Linked DNA regions of Homo sapiens: all the other regions are linked to region 3. The links are contacts of gene promoters, found by promoter capture Hi-C in human tissues and cell types (Jung and others, 2019). All regions are on one chromosome and are shown on one strand. The core of a region is centred on a gene start or on the middle of the fragment in contact, and the rest is flanking DNA. Distances in the headings are between cores, read along the strand shown. Region 1 holds the start of SPIN1 (spindlin 1). Region 2 overlaps LOC105376134 (a long non-coding RNA gene). Region 3 holds the start of CTSL (cathepsin L).

The links. The method cuts DNA at HindIII sites, captures the fragments that hold promoters and counts their contacts. A contact is called where the count stands out against the background at its distance.
Region 1: the fragment with the promoter of SPIN1 here is called in contact with the fragment with the promoter of CTSL in region 3 in 1 of the 25 tissues and cell types used here (dorsolateral prefrontal cortex).
Region 2: a contact is called between a fragment that was not itself captured here and the fragment with the promoter of CTSL in region 3, in 1 of the 25 tissues and cell types used here (aorta).

What each region holds. Positions count from the first base shown.
Region 1 is chr9:88,386,903-88,390,537 of GRCh38, forward strand. It overlaps SPIN1 (spindlin 1), which reads left to right and starts at 1,542. Exons shown (of 6, transcript NM_006717.3): 1 at 1,542-1,636. It overlaps LOC124902204 (a long non-coding RNA gene), which reads right to left and starts at 2,297. Exons shown (of 2, transcript XR_007061652.1): 1 at 2,210-2,297; 2 at 1-1,215. RefSeq lists an enhancer at 358-1,217 and a silencer at 1,295-2,194. The HindIII fragment of the contact is 12,466 bases long and covers 1-3,635 here.
Region 2 is chr9:88,526,428-88,529,661 of GRCh38, forward strand. It overlaps LOC105376134 (a long non-coding RNA gene), which reads right to left. Exons shown (of 2, transcript XR_007061653.1): 2 at 1,533-2,337. Among named protein-coding and RNA genes, the nearest start is that of NXNL2, 7.1 kb to the right of the region's middle. The HindIII fragment of the contact is 4,513 bases long and covers 1-3,234 here.
Region 3 is chr9:87,724,329-87,727,913 of GRCh38, forward strand. CTSL (cathepsin L) reads left to right here and starts at 1,791. Exons shown (of 8, transcript NM_001912.5): 1 at 1,791-2,070; 2 at 3,266-3,401. The coding sequence starts at 3,276. RefSeq lists promoters at 1-1,864, 215-1,836, 319-1,864, 331-1,763, 533-1,864 and 7 more, cis regulatory regions at 780-782, 848-850, 1,007-1,194, 1,192-1,199, 1,271-1,421 and 12 more and an enhancer at 1,582-2,103. The HindIII fragment of the contact is 7,957 bases long and covers 1-3,585 here.

The sequences.
Region 1 (3,635 bases), core at 292-2,791, 660 kb after region 3:
ACTAAAAATATTTTTAAAAATTAGCTGGACATGGTGGTGCGCGCCTGTAATCCCAGCTACTCGGGAGGCTGAAATGTGAGGATTGCTTGAACCCAGGAAGCGGAGGTTGCAGTGGGCCGAGATCATGCCACTGCACTGCAGCCTGGGGAACAGAGTGAGACTCCGTCTAAAAAAACAAAAAAGACATTAAACACACAAATGAAAGTGAGTAATTTCTCAACACTTGGTAACTTGTAAGTACAGCGATACACTTTTATATCTCAGTTTTGAAATTAGCTCTCTAGTTGGCCTGTGAACGTCCCATGCCTGCCAAGTGTGTCATCTGAGACAAGCACTTCAATTTGTTTGAGCAGGCATCTATCAATCTTATTTGTTAGAAAAGGTGCCAGTGAAACCCCAAAGAGTATTGCTAACTAATAACTGTGCTGCAGTTTAGAGTGTTCAAGGTGCTTTCCAGTAACATGTTCTGGAATTTGATCTGACAACGCTTTGGGAGGCGGTTTATTACGATGAGGCTGCGCTGTCGCACTCGAGGAACCAGGTCAGTGACCTGCTCCAGGACACGGGACTGGCGGGGAGGGGAGAGCGCCTGGACTCAGCCTCCAAGTCTCGCACTCGACTCTGCAGGAGTAAAAACTATTCTTGATCCTACCTCTCTCCCTTCTGCAAACAAGCAACAAAATGCTGAAAAGGCATCTTAACTGAAACGGAAGTCAAATGAATTCGCGTGCGATCATGGGAATTTTTGGCTCCTAACCTTGCGAGTAGAGCTGGGTGAGTTCCATTTGTGGTGGGGGAGTGGAAACAGGTTTCTGGGCTTGCAGAAGCCACATCCCGTCCCCACACAACCTAGGACAGGCCAGGTACTTGTAGGTGAGGCTCCGGGGCTCCAGCTAACCTGAGCTACCTGGGCTGGGCTTTGTGCGGGGAGGCAGCAAGCGGGGTGAGCCGGCGACGACGCCGGCCTCTACGCAGTGCGGTGGTGAAGACGTCTCTTCCAGGGAGTCACAGGAAGCAAATCCATCCTTTTAAAGGGCTCGCGTCCCGCGGCCCTGAACCGGCGCGCTGGAGCAGTAATGCGACGTTCTCCGAGGTTCAAGGCTCACGGCCCAGCCCTGTGATCCAGTTTCCTCAGTCTTCGCGGTGTGCACCACTCAGGACGACTTGCGGCTTACGTCCAGGACAAAGGGGGCTTGTCCTTTCTTCAACGTCCTACTGCGCAAAAACGAAGCCCTTCTCAGGCTGCCTGCCTTCCAGGAAAAGCTGCGCCCCCTCAGGAACCTGTGCCCCGCGCGCCTGCCGCCGCCCATTCCCGGCGCGCACCTGGCAGTCCCGGGCTCGAGCCCCGCCCTGCCGCCAGCCAGGTGAGAGGGGCCAGGCCCCGCCCTCGCCGGCCCCGCCCCGCCCCACTGCGCCTGCGCAGTCGGCCGTCGGCGCCAGGCGCCGGGGCGGCGCGGCCGTCGCAGTTCGGCGGGCGCAGTGCGCGTGCGCCCTGACTGTTGGGGGGCGGGCGGCGTCCGCGGCGAGGGAGCGGGGGCGGGGAGGCGCCGTCTGGCTCAGGCTGGGGCCGGCGGGAGCGCGAACGAGCGACGGCGGAACCCGTGGGCCTGTGGACTGCAGCCTCGGCGGTCAGCAGGTGAGGCCCGCGCAGGGCGGGCGTGGGTCGTGAGGGAGTGCGGGCTGCGGGCGGGCCAGCGGTGCGGCGGTCTGCCCGGGGGCGCAGGTGAGCGCGGCCCGCGCGGGGCCCGGCGGAGCATTGTCCAGCGGGCGGCGCCCGCATAGCGCCCCCTGCCGGCTGGGCCGCGGCGGGGACCCGGGCTGGGCGGGCCTGGGCCTCGGGGCGGGCGCGCGCTCCTTTGTTCGCCGGCCCCTACTCCTCCGTGCCCCCATCCCCGCCGCCCCCCGCCAACATGGCCGCCACCCTCTCGTCCCCAGTTCCCCGGCCGCCGCCGGCCCCTTAGCGCGCGCTTTGTTTGGAGCCGGGCGGGGAGGCCGGCGGGCAGGGGGCGGCGGCGCTGCGCAGTCGGGCGCGGGGAGGGGGCGCTGCGCCAGAATGCAGGCGGGGAGGGGGAACGTTGCATAATCCCGGGCCGGCGACGGGGGCGGGGCGGGGGGAGGGGCGGGACCCCGGCGCGACGGGTCGGGTCACCCCGGGGACGCGGGCCTGCCCTGGGGCCACCCCTCCCAGGCCCGGGGGATGGCCGCGGACCTTGTAAGTTGCAGGCTCCGCGGTTCGCGGCGCCGGAACGCCCACCGGCCAGTCCTCGCGCCCGCGCAGCCCCTTTCCTGATGCGCCGTCTCTTCGCCGCCCTCCGTGGGGGCGCGGCGAACGGGTTGCGTGCTCTGGAGAGAGACAGGCACTTTTCCTCTCCATCGTGAGTGACCTTGGGTGTATTCGTCAAGGAATGTGTTGAAACGAATTGTGCGATGCGGGAACTGCGCAGCGCCTCGGGTTTGGCTTTCTCGAGCATTTTATTGCATTGATTGTGCGTTCTCGATTTTACAGAGGTTCGTTTTGAGTAATGGCTTCAGTAATGTCATCGTATACGCATTTCAAAGTTTGTTTATGGAATTGTTTTTACATTTATTCTCTTTTTACTTATAATTTTTGAATCAGATTTTGTGTTTTGGAGAGATTTTCCGTACGTGGTGGAAGTGTTTTCACTCATGGTAAATATGGATTGTTTGGCAATTTTATCACGTTAATCACAAAACAATACCAGGAACATTTAAATGTCTTAAAGGATTTCACTCTACATGACTTGTGCCAGAGACGACACACGTACCAAAACGCGATTACCTGTCTTAACTTTTTTTCTATTGGAATTTTCTGGAAGGAATTCCATGCAATCCGAAAGGATTAATGGAGGGTACAGTAATTGCTTTCTACATCGCTTTTGTTAAGCAGTGAAAATTAAACTTGGAGATTTATACCTGGATATACTGAGTTTTTTTTAACACTCTTTTGAAGTGAAATTTTGGAAAGGGCAGGTGAAATGAGGCTTCTTCCAACCTCCCCACTCTCCCCCCTCAGCTTTAGTTAAAAGGCAAACACCAAAATATTGTAGTACCTGGTAATTTACAGAACGTTCGTTATCAGATTTGATAATTATATATTAAGGTTGTAAAGAATGTGTATGCCAGAATTATAGGTAGTAGATCCTAGATTCTTAGGAAAAATAGTTTCTTTATAATCTTTTGAGTAGTGAAATGGTTACTTTTACAATGGTTATGAACTGGGTCAAGGCAAAAGGGCCACTATATGTCTTCAGTCATCTTTCTATGCCTGAAATCCAGGAAACAGTGAAAATGGATGTTCCCTGGAACAGCCATTGCGATGCCATATGTTGGTCATTGGTGTCCTTAAAGTGTATCTCAGATAATTGTGTGTCTCCCTTACTTGTGAACTGAGGGGTCACAATATTGATGTGCCTGATGTGTGCCCCTCTGCATTTCGTGGGTAGTGTCTCAAATTTGGCTATCATATTGATGAGAGTTACTAATTTGGTTTTAGCTGCCAGAGGTTTAGGTGGTTTTCACTTCCAGTGACTTACCTGATTGCACATAGTTACAACGTTACTGGTTGCACTCCTTCATTGCTAGCATCTTTTTTCTAGTATATTCGATATACATTC
Region 2 (3,234 bases), core at 212-2,711, 800 kb after region 3:
GTGGGGTCGGCTGTCTGCACCCAGTGACAGCCACCCTCATGGTGGCCCAACTGAGAAGCTCACTCTTCCCTCTCCCAACCTGCTGTGGCCCCGCTCCTGCCACCTCTTTCAAGGACCAGCCTCCTTACAAAGTCTTTCCCAGTCCTGCCCCTTGAAGAAACTCTCCTTCCTCCACACCTCTATTATGGGTTGTGCATCCCCCACAAAGATGAGCCATTCTGAAGTCCTAACTCTCAGGACCTCAAAATGTGACCTTATTTGGAAACAGGATCCTTGCAGATGTAATAGTTAAAGTTAGGTCACATTGGAGCAGGGTGGGCCGCTGACCCAATGTGACTGTGTTCTTATAAAAAGGAGACCGGTGAAGACCTAGGATTGGAGTGACACAGCCACAAGCCAAGGAACTCCAAAGATTGCTGCAGCCACCAGAAGCCAGGAAGAGGCAAGCAAGGACTTCCTAAGGTTTCAGAGGGAGCACGGCCCTGCACCACGCTGATGTCAGACTTCTGGCCTCTGGAACTATGAGATAGCCCATTTCTGTTGTTTGGAGCCACCCAGGTTGTCTTTGTTACAGCAGCCCTGAGGAACTAACCCAACCTCCATCCAGGAATGGATTGTATTTCCTGCTGCCAATGCTGGAGCAGGGTGGCTTCGTGGCCATGCAGCCCCTCAGAGGCACAGGGCCCTGCACTTGGGGTTTAGTGCTCTGTGATTGCTGTCTTGACATTCTTAATTATTTTATCAGGCTGGGCACGGTGGCTCATGCCTCTAATCCCAGCACTTTAGGAGGCCGAGGGGGGCGGATCACTTGAGGTCAGGAGTTTGAGACCAGCCTGGCCAGCATGGAGAAACCCCATCTCTACTAAAAATACAAAAAATTAGCCAGGTGTGGTGGTGGACACCTGTAGCCCCAGCTGTTTGGGAGGCTGAGGCAGGAGAATCACTTGAACCTGGAAGGTGGAAGTTGCAGTGAGCCAAGATTGCGCCACTGCACTCTAGCCTGGGTGACAGAGTGAGACTCTTGTCTCCAAAACAAAACAAAACAAAACAAAACAAAAAAAACTTTATTTTATCTTTGAATTTGTGTGGTGTAAGTGAGGCCTCATTGGACAGTGGAGCATACGTGAGCACTTGGAGCCTGCCTCATGTGTGCTCCCATCTGCTGCTGGTCCGCCACCTCTCCCAGGCACATTATTGACTGCTCGTCTCCCTCCCTTTGGTGTCCTGGGCCCCACATGGCCTCCCCATCCCCACCCTCACCCAGCAACCGCTGGTGCCCTCCATGGTCTGCGGGAACCTGAGTGTGTATGTGTGGAGGGGTGTGGGGTTGACATCAGATGCTTTTACTACACTACCCGTGGCATCTCAGGGTGGGCGTGGCCATGCAAGCAGCTGGTGGACTGTGTACCCACCAAGTCACTCGGCAGGGCCCCTGGGCAAGTGTGACAGTTGACACTCACCCTGTCCCAAGAAAGCATGATATTCAGTAGCAAATAAAAACACCATGATAGGTCAAAAGAGAGACCATGGAAGAAAGGGAAAAGCTTTCGTTTATTTTAGTTCCTTTGCTGGCCCATTCTTTTCCTGCTTTTTGAACAAGGGGCTCTGCATTTTTATTTTGCACTGGGCCTTTCAAATTTTGTGGCTGGCCCTGGTTGGGAGCTGCAAAGTGATGCTCCAACTTAGAAACGAGACACGGGATCCATCAGCTATGATACAAGATGAATTCCTGGTGGATTGGAACTCGGGCAAGCAGCCTCATGAAGAAACAAGGTATGCATGATGCTATTAGCAGGCAAGGGCCCTGGTCAGCTGAGACGGTCCTGCTTCCTCTGGATAGGGTATCCTGGCCACTGGAATATTTAAAACTAGGAAATTCAGAAAGTTATATTTGCACACTGGGATGTCTAATTTGTTTGTTATGCTGATCAGTGCAAAAAATCTTTTCCATAATTGTATTTGAATATTCATAAGTGTTGCTAGAAGAAAAAGTCAATTTCATGTCAAACCACCAAGGATCACATTTTCTTCACATGCTGCTCTTTTGCCAGGGAGAAGTGATTCAATGTATGTTGACAAAAAGCAGGACTGAGAAGAGCAGAACTGGTCCAAGAACTTATGAAATACCCACATTCAGGGAGACTTTCTCTAAGGAGAAACATCCCTCTTCAGAAGTCTGGGGAGCTTGCATACTGAGTAGAAAGGCAGAGCCGTACCTCCCTGGAGAGTCTCTGAAGACCTCATCTGCCCAGCCATCCAGCGTGAGCTCTGGAAACCTTCTGCCTTTTAGTCTATGTCAAGACTAGAAGCCAAGCAAGGTGTCACAGCCCTTCATAACTGTTAATGAGAAATAGAACTGAACACTATCCAAGGCAAAAAGACAGACTCTGTTGAGCACTACTGCAAAAGGAAAGCGCCGAGCACAATTCCCAACACAAGGACAAGTGGGGATTTACAGCCCAGGAACAGGGTGGAGGTGGGGGGTTGGCAGATGGAAAACAGAGGGGACCTTGACGGTAGGGGGGTATCTTGCTAAACTAACTTAACAGGACACCTGCTGCAGGCAGGCCAGGATGATTGGATACTAAAGGCAGAAGAGGACTTAACAGGATTCTTTGCTAAGACTGGCTCAGGCAGGCTGAGCACGGGGTCCAAGGATGAGGCCTAGCTGAAAAAAGTGCCGGAGGAGTCTGTCTGAAGTTGGTCAAGCAGTGAGTTATTATCGTGCTCTCGGGAGGAAATGCAGAAAGGACTACCCTTAAATCAGGGGCAGCGGGGAGGGGAGAGGGGCTCAGGGAGGGAGGGCAGGCCTGAGGGTGCCTTCACTGGGGTCTCTCCGGCCAGCATCTGGAGTGGGACTCACTGCCCAGTTTCCCTGTGGTTGTCCAAGGCAAGTAAAGCTGCTTACAGATGCCCACACTCATGTCACCTTTAGATGCCCTGGAAGGAAGTTTGGTATGAAAGTGGCTTTGCATATCCCAGCTAGGAAAGTAGGGGCCACCTAATCCTGTTTCCAGGACTGCATTTGTGAGTGTTCCTGTGTGTGTTGTGCAGAGAGAAACATGAAGGAGAACTTGGCTCCAGCAGCGGTGGGAGAATGCAGGGCTTCATGCTGCATCCTGTGGCACCTGCAGCCCACTCCCTCCCCAGGGAGAGGTCAGGGGGACAGCATTTGGAGGCAAATGACACAAGCTTTCTGCAATAGGAAGGGGTTTGGGAAAGTCCATTTGAAGA
Region 3 (3,585 bases), core at 541-3,040:
ACAGTTAGATTGTATTCTACACATTGTGACTGGTTCTCCAGAGAAGCAATGCATAAAAAGAGGAATAATCGGCCGGGCACGGTGGCTCACACCTGTAATTCCAGCACTCTGGGAGGCCAAGGCAGGCGAATCACGAGGTCAGGAGTTCAAGACCAGTCTGGTCAATATGGTGAAACCCCATCTCTACTAAAAATACAAAAATTAGCCAGGCGTGGTGGTGCGCGCCTGTAGTCCCAGCTCCTCTGGAGGCTGAGGCAGAGGAATCACTTGAACCCAGGAGGCAGACATTGCAGTGAGCTGCGATTGCGCCACTGCACTCCAGCCTGAACAACAGAGCCAGACTCCGTCTCAAAAAAAAAAAAAGAGGAATAATCTCCAAAATAGTAAACAAATTCCTGCAGACAGGAAATATAATGGTAGATACCTGAGCTAGGAGAGGGGGAATGGGGAACTATTATTCAATGGATACAGTTTCAGTTTAGGAAGATAAACAAGCTCTGGGAATAAACAGTAGTAATGGTTACACAATGTGAAGGTACTTAATGCTACTGAACTCAAAGTTGGTTAAAATGGTACTTGCTATGTGAGGTATATTTTACCACTTAAAAAACTATAGGTGATTGTGCTTCTAAAAGAGTTATCAGTTTAATCTTCAATAGAAATCAATGGACTTTGTTCATTTTTAACAAAGTCAAAATATGCATACGAAAAGGTTATGGGGTAAAGGCAGAGGTAATTATTTTTTTCCCCGAAAGGTATTTTCTACAATGAATGTTTTTATGTAATAAAAAATGAAATGACAAAAGTTTAGAATGTTTGTGGGTTTTGTTCCTTAAATCCTTAATTACATAAATTAATATCTACATTATACAGATTAAGATACATATTTTTCCTCTATCTACAACATTTCTCCATTCTCTGTATCTTAAATCCTGACATTAAATGTCATTAAATTTCTTAAATCTCAAGAGAACGACTTGGTTACCAAGGAAGATATAATCCATAGCCTAGAGAGTGGGCGAATAAAAGCAGCTTCTAATGTTCTCAACTGCTTTTCTCCTGTCAACCAAATGTTTCTGTAAATAACTCATTTCTGTTGGTTTTGGGTAAGACGTGGGAGAAGGAAGAATCCCTGAATGGAGGAGTCTGGAAAGGATGCTTGACAAAACGCCCGCGCTCTCTGGAGACGCAGCCAGTCTCCTCCCTCCTAGGGTCTGGTCTTGACGATAGCATCTCGTGTTTTGGGGATGCCTTTCCTTACCAGATTCTTCTAAAGCCCAGCTGCACCCACCCTTAAGTGGGAGATAAGGCTTCTGCCCGCGGGCTCTGCGTTCGTCCACCCGGCCCCACGTTTGCTGTGGACTAAACAGGAGCCACTGGACTAGAGTACACTTGACTCTCGGCTCTGCGGACCAAAAATTCCAGGACTAAGGAATAGCAAGGTTAGGCTGAAACAGTCCACACAGGGCTTGCGGTAAACGTCTTTTCAGGAGCCACTCGCCCAGTGCAGTAAGTCGTGTACTTAGTTGACTCGAGCGCTCCAGGGAGACGCCCGACCCTACTCTGCGCCGCCCCGGGGCACCAGCTCTGCTTCCTCCAGGTCCACTGAGGCAGGCACGCCCAGCTCTGGGACAGTCAGTAAACAAGCCACGAACCGCGCCAGGGATCAGAGCACCCAGAGTCCCCGCCCAGCTGCCGGCACAGCCAATCGCAGCGCAGCCAGGCGGCGGGGCGGTGCCGGCCGAACCCAGACCCGAGGTTTTAGAAGCAGAGTCAGGCGAAGCTGGGCCAGAACCGCGACCTCCGCAACCTTGAGCGGCATCCGTGGAGTGCGCCTGCGCAGCTACGACCGCAGCAGGAAAGCGCCGCCGGCCAGGCCCAGCTGTGGCCGGACAGGGACTGGAAGAGAGGACGCGGTCGAGTAGGTGTGCACCAGCCCTGGCAACGAGAGCGTCTACCCCGAACTCTGCTGGCCTTGAGGTGGGGAAGCCGGGGAGGGCAGTTGAGGACCCCGCGGAGGCGCGTGACTGGTTGAGCGGGCAGGCCAGCCTCCGAGCCGGGTGGACACAGGTACCGCAGCCAGGCCGCGCCGCGCCGACTCAGGGCCTGGCCCGGCCAGACAGGGAAGCTCAGTCCCCGCACGCCAGACAGCGGTACTCCTGCTGGCGTCACCGCAAACATCCTCTGACCGCTACAGCCAGTGTGTGGCGCAGGCGTCATGTCCCCGGCCCTGCCACGCCTGGAGCCCTGGAAGCTGGCTGCAGGGCGCTGGCTTCCCGCGTGCGGCCATATGACCCCGTCCCTGATTTAGGGGAGCAGTTTGGGGTGTCGGCAGCACAGGCCCAAGTGAATGAAGGAGGGAGCAGTGCGTGCTCTCCTTCCCAGTTTTTCCTGGGAAAGCATTTCAGAAAGGTTTCATTTAAGGAGAGGTTGGGGCGGCGCGGTGGCTCACTCCTGTAATCCCAGCACTTTGGGAGGCTGAGGTGGGCGGATCACCTGAGGTCAGTAGTTCGAGACCAGCCTGGCCAACATGGTGAAACCCCGTCTCTACTGAAAATACAAAATTAGACGGGCGAGGCGGCGCACGCCTGTAGTTCCAGCTATTCAAGAGGCTGAGGAAGAATGGCTTGAACCCGGGAGGCAGAGGTTGCTGTGAGCCGATATCGCGCCGTTGAACTCCAGCCTGGGCCACAGAGCAAGACTCCATCTCAAAAAATAAATAAATAAATAAATAAATAAATAAATAAATAAATAGGAGAGATTGGAAAACTTATCTCAGCTTTTGGTGTTTGTTAGTCAGGAAGATGTGTGAAGGCCTCCTAACTCTTGGGGATCTCTTTGTCCCTACTTGGGAATCCCACCTTATCATTAGTGAGGTTTTGCCTGGGCACGAAACCTGGATTTTTTGCGATTGGTACAAAACCTGGATCAACCGTTTCCCGGTTTCCTAGTTGTTGCCTTAAGCTTCTCACACACAAGGTAGTTTCATACCGTTCTCATAACCTAAATTGTCATCGCATAAACTGTTTCAGCTCCTACAGCTCTGGACAGGCTGCTTTTCATTTTGGTGAGTCCATCCAGTACCTCCACGTGCCCTGTTTTTCTCCAGGCACATCCTTGGCCTCTTCCACAGTCCTTGGGTAAATGCTTGGGAGAATAATTTAAATATTTTTATTCTACCATGGTGGCCCTAATTTTTCAGGGGGCAGTAAGATGGCTTTTTAGGATTGGTCTAATCAGATCCTCATTTTTGTTCCCTTCCTAGGTTTTAAAACATGAATCCTACACTCATCCTTGCTGCCTTTTGCCTGGGAATTGCCTCAGCTACTCTAACATTTGATCACAGTTTAGAGGCACAGTGGACCAAGTGGAAGGCGATGCACAACAGATTATACGGCATGGTTAGTGAAACTTCCCCAGAAAGAATAGTCCTGGCTGTTGAGAAGTTTTAGTCAGAGAGTAGCTTCTAGAGGCCAGCTTTTACCAATAGCCTAATGTAATAACCTAATGGCGTGGATTATGAGCACAATGTGGACATTCATCCTTGTTGTGTCTCAGTTTGGAGAACAGCATCCCCAGAGGTGT